2 separate regions of the Homo sapiens genome follow, and region 1 is linked to region 2. Evidence: promoter capture Hi-C in human tissues and cell types (Jung and others, 2019). All regions are on one chromosome and are shown on one strand. The core of a region is centred on a gene start or on the middle of the fragment in contact, and the rest is flanking DNA. Distances in the headings are between cores, read along the strand shown.

Region 1 (2,700 bases), core at 153-2,652, 53 kb before region 2:
TGTTGAAGGGGAGGGGTGGCTAATTTGTTGTGTTTTATGTCATTGAAAATTAGTTGTTATGTACTTTTTTCTTGCATATTTTTGAATTGGTTCCTAAATGTGACAGGGTCAAGAATAAATGCATACATTATTTTTTAATTATTGCTCAGTTTTTCTCTGTAGAGGTTATATTATTGTTTATTCCCACCAACAATAGGAAGGCTTTAATTCCCCCACAACTTTCCTATCAGGGAATATTGTCAAATTTTTGCATGGTTTTCAAACTAATAGATAATAAGTGGTATTCCAATATAGTTCAAATTTATATTTCTTTTATTAGGCATAATTAGTTTATTTTCAGATGCTGAAAGGACATTTTTATTTCCTCTTCTGTTAAGTATTTTTGTTGTCAGCAGCTTTTGAAACCCTTGATCACTACCTCTTTGATAAAATACTTTTTTCCTTTCACTTCCAAGACAGACCACTCACCTTGCCTCTCCTCTCCTTCATGACCCATTCTTCTCTCCTCTCTCCACCAGGTGATTCTTCTCTTACCGATCTCTAAATATCAGGTAGTCCCAAAACTCAGTATTTGAACATCTTTTGTCCATCTATATTCACTCATTGGGGAATTTCATCCTGTCTTGTGGCCTTAAAATACCATCTACACACTCATGGCAATTCCCAGATATATACTTTTAGACCCTAACATTCCCCTAAATAATATAAAAATATGTAATTGACCGCTTGACGTTTTCTTCAATATTAAACCATACACTTCTTCACTCTCACACCTTAGGGTGAACCGCTCCTGTTATCCCTCCTCTTCCTGCCTCTTTTGCTGTAATTGCTCAAGCCAAACTGCTTAGAGTCATCAAGAACTCCTCTTTCTCTCTCAGACTCCACTTCTAATCCAGAAACACATTTAGTTAGCCCTACCAAAATCTGGCCATTTTATCACCATCTACATCATTACAATTCCAGCCTGAGATACCACCATCACTCTCTTTGAATTTGTCAATAGCCCTCTGGCTGGTCTTCCTGTTTTTATGTTATTCTAGCTTTCACCTTGTCTTCTTGCCATACAGCATCCAGAATGATCCTTTTAAAATATGTCAGATTAAATCCAACAATTTCATCTCTGGATATATGCTCAAAAGAATTGAAGACAGGGTTGTGAAGACCTGTTCATAGCAGCCATAGCCAATAGGTAGAAGCTTATTGTCAAATGTCCACCTACAGATGAATGGATAAACAAAATGTAATATATACATGCAATGGAATATTATTTAGCTTTAAAAAGGAGGAAATTCTGATATATGCTACAGTATGCATGAACCTTGAGGATATTATGCTAAGTGAAATAAACCCCTCACAAAAAGACAAATATGATTCCACTTATGTGAGGTATCTAGAGTAGCCAAACTACTCTAGACATGAGATATCTAGGCGTATCTAAAAATGGAAAGTAGAATGCTGGTTGCCAGGAGTTAGATGCGGTGGAAAATTGAGAGTAATTGTTTAACGAGTATAAAGTTTCGATTTTGCAAGATGAAAAAGTTCTGGAAATTGGTTGCACAACACTGTGAATGTACTTAACACTACTGAACTGTAGACTCAAAAATAGGATGGTAAATTTTATGTTTTATGCATTTTAACCATAATTTTAAAAAATAATAAATTAAAAAATATGTCAGATCATGAGGTAGATCTTCTTCAAACCCACCCATAAATGTCCTTTTCACTCAGAATAAAGTCCAGAATTCATATCAGAACCTTCAAAATGTTATATGATCTGCACATCTCTGCCCACCACCCACCCCTGACCTCATCTTCTACTAGTCAGTCTTTGTCTCAATTTGCCATTGTTTTCCCACTGATCCTTGAGCTAGTCAAAAGTGTTTCTCACTTGGGTCCTTCACACGTGATGTTTTCTGAGATATTTATATGACTCCATTTCCCCTCTTCAGAGAAGCATTTCCTGTCTACCCTATTTAAAAAGAACGCTCTTCTCATCAGTTGTCAGCTCCTTACTTGGTTTATTTTTTTTCATATCCCTTAACAACACTTAATATATAGTATTTCATTTTTGTACTATTTTCCTCTCCCTATGAGAATATAAACCAAAAAACTATTTAATGTCCTATGGTCAATCAAAAAGTCTTATAAAAATTTATGATTGGCTGGGCTCAGTGGCTCACGCCTGTAATCCCAGCACTTTGGGAGGCCGAGGCGGGTGGATCACGAGGTCAGGAGATCAAGACGGTTAATACGGTGAAACCTCGTCTCTGCTAAAACTACAAAAGATTAGCCGGGCTTTGTGGCGGGCACCTGTAGTCCCAGCTACTCAGGAGACTGAGGCAGGAGAATGGCGTGAATCCAGGAGGCGGAGCTAGCAGTGAGCCGAGATCGCACCACTGCCCTCCAGCCTGGGCGACAGAGCAAGACTCCAACTCAAAAAAAAAAAAAAAATTGTGATTAACTGGTGAGGGAAGAAGAGGAGAGTAGAGGCAAGGTGATTGGGCTGTCTTGGAAGTTAAATGAAACAAGTATTTTATCAAAGAGGTAGTGATCAGTTTCTGCAAAACGAAAAAAAAAACCAAATATTTTACTTTTTACACAGTACTATTACATTTCCAGCAGCAGAATAGTGTCTGATACATAACTGAAGCTTGACAAATAATTGTTAAATAAATGAATAAGTAGATGAATAAATTGTAT
Region 2 (2,700 bases), core at 33-2,532:
TTAATTGCTCATTCTCAAATATAGAGACGCCAATTAATTCCACACAACCTAGATTCAAAGCAGCACAGGGAAATGGTCCTGAGGTGAGTATTGTACAAAAATGAAGAAAAATAGATGTGTTCTAGCGTCCACAAAGCTGATTCTTCAACAGGCAGTAATAGAAGCCCAATGCACCCAGCGATTGGCTGATGGCATCTTTGTTCAGGCGATCGATGAGCGCCCTAACCCACACGCTGGGTGGAGAAATCCCTCTGCCACCCTCACCTTCAGAATCCACTGCTCAGCCACCTGGCTCCCGCGGGGTGCGCCACCGCCTCACTGCTGGTACACGTCTCCCCCTCTCGACCGCCAAGTGCTTGCTCCCTCCAGGCGAGCACTCACACAATGGACTCACTTGTTTCCCATGCCCCTCTCCTTTGACTTCCAGCCTCAGCGAACAACTTGAGCAAGAGTCAAACAGGAGTCTCTGCCATGGAGCATAGACCCTTGGAGCTTTCCAGACCAGCTCAGAAGCACGGGCGCACACACAGACAAAACAATGCCTTGTCCACGAATGAATAAAGGACACCCATGCCCCCACCCACCGCTCCGCAACCCGCAGAAAGAAACCCGGGACGGGGTTTCCTAAATAAGAGATTTTGTTGTGTCTTTCAAACTGCAAGCATTCCCCTTGAAGACGGCGAAAGAGAGGCTGTGCGTTCAGATGGCAATAAAGATTGACAGTGGCTTTGCCCGTGACAACGCCCCCAGCATCGCGCTGAGCCAGGTTCCCTGAGAACCGGGAGGGGGAAACGCAGATCTAGGGAGGAGGGAACAGCAGAGGCAAAGGCAGCTTGGGAGGGATGGGAAATGGAAAATCAGGGAAACAAACAAACAAACAAACAAAATGAATGAGTGAATGTGGGCTTGAATAGTAAAACTTCCAGAGAGAAGACGATGGGATCTCTCCCCAGGTAACTACCTGTAGATGAAAAATAGATGAAATACACAAGGAAGTGGCAAGCAACAACTTTGAGGTGAGCAGCAAGTTGTGCACCTCCTCTCAAGGCGCTGGATCAGCACCCCTGAGCTGCCCCCACAGCACACACTCCCAATGCGAGGCGGCGGCGGCAGCAACAGAGGCAGCAGCAGCAATCGCGGCAGCAGCGGCAGAGGCGGCGGCAGCTGCGCGCCTCGGGCCCAACCCCGCTCGGCTCCCCCTCTCGCCGGCGCCCTGCCTGTCTTGCGTGTGCGTGTGCGTGTGCTCAGCCTCAGCGTGAGGGGCACCTGCTCGTCTGGGCTCACAGCGAAGGCAGCCTCGCCGCGAGCTGCCGCTGCCGCTGCTGCCGCCACTGGTGTTGCCGCTCTCAGGCGCCAGGCTCCCCGTCGCCGCCGCCGCCGCCTCGCCAGCCAGAGTTGGGCTCCGTGGGCTTCCCCCCTCGCAGCCTCGGTCCTTCCCCGCTGCCTGCAAGTCAGCCTGGCTCCGAGTCACGTGTCAGTGCCTGAGGCAGAGACTGCGAGAAAAAAACGCGCTTCATTCCTTCTTCCACCGCCATACTGTATTTTATACTAAATCTCATTTTTATTCCAACATTTTACTCCCGCTCGGTGAGTACCTTCTCAGTGGCATTCTTGTCCTATTCTTTTTTTTGTCCTTTTTTTTGGTTTTTTGTTTTTTTTGTTTTTGTTTTTTTTCTTTTTTTCCACTTCTTTGATTATTGTTTATATTTGGGAAAGCTGGAGGAGCATGGTTTTGAGCCTTTTCCTGAATCCAAGTTTTTCTAGCATGCGATCGTTCTGTAGACAAGGCGCTGTGTCTCGGAGTCCGCGGCGACCGTGCCCGCTGGGAGCGTCTCCCAAGTCCAGCAAAATGTGCAACTGGTTTTATGGAAAAAGCGATGTGAAGTATGGTGCCTATTTTTTTCCTTTGTAAAAATAAAAAGCATGTTTCTAACTCTTTTTTTGCATACTCTTTTTCTGATAACATTTTTGTATAGGTGGGATTTTACGGCAGTGTTTACAAGTTTGTGGTCTTGCAATACTGGTGCAAACCACTGAGCAAAGACATTAATTTTATATTTTTTGTGCCCTTTTTGGAAGCCGGTGAAAACAAATTCGTTTTTTTTCCCTCCTGTTTTTGATACCCATTGATAACATGAAACTTTTCTTACAGCTGGTGATTGGGATCATTTTTAAGCAAAATACTTTTTTCCTCCTTTAAATTAACTATGACTTTTGCACATTTGACTTTTTTAAAAAACCGAGATAATTTTATGATAGATATCCTGATATCTATATCTATATTGTCCCTTATTTCTCCCCCTTCCCTCCCCGTAAATCAATTTTCAAATGATGGCAGTGGAAGGTTTTTCTGGAAAAAAAAAAATGAAGTGCGGTTTGGTTTCCTTGTCAACGGAGGATGAAGTGAACAGCTGAGCAGCTCGCAGAGAGCAGGTACTTGGTCCCCTTGGAGGCGTTTCCCGGGTGTGCAGTGGCAACACTGGTCCTAGCAAAGAAATGTGTGAGTGTGAGTGTGTGTGTGTGTCTGTGTTTGCGCGCGCGCATCTCCGGGCAGTGTCCGAGCCCGAGGTGGGGAGAGCGGCGCAGGGAGCCAGGGAAAACCAAAGTCCGTTCCCTGCTTCAGGATCGTTTTCTAGATGTGCGCAAAATACAGTCCCCTCCCCCCACCCCTCCCACGGTGAGCTGCGCCCAGGTCGTCTC

Evidence for each region. The method cuts DNA at HindIII sites, captures the fragments that hold promoters and counts their contacts. A contact is called where the count stands out against the background at its distance.
Region 1: a contact is called between a fragment that was not itself captured here and the fragment with the promoter of RALYL in region 2, in 1 of the 25 tissues and cell types used here (ovary).

Annotation. Positions count from the first base shown.
Region 1 is chr8:84,129,266-84,131,965 of GRCh38, forward strand. No RefSeq gene overlaps it. Among named protein-coding and RNA genes, the nearest start is that of RALYL, 53 kb to the right of the region's middle. The HindIII fragment of the contact is 3,818 bases long and covers 1-2,700 here.
Region 2 is chr8:84,181,992-84,184,691 of GRCh38, forward strand. RALYL (RALY RNA binding protein like) reads left to right here and starts at 1,283. Exons shown (of 9, transcript NM_173848.7): 1 at 1,283-2,433. The HindIII fragment of the contact is 16,405 bases long and covers 1-2,700 here.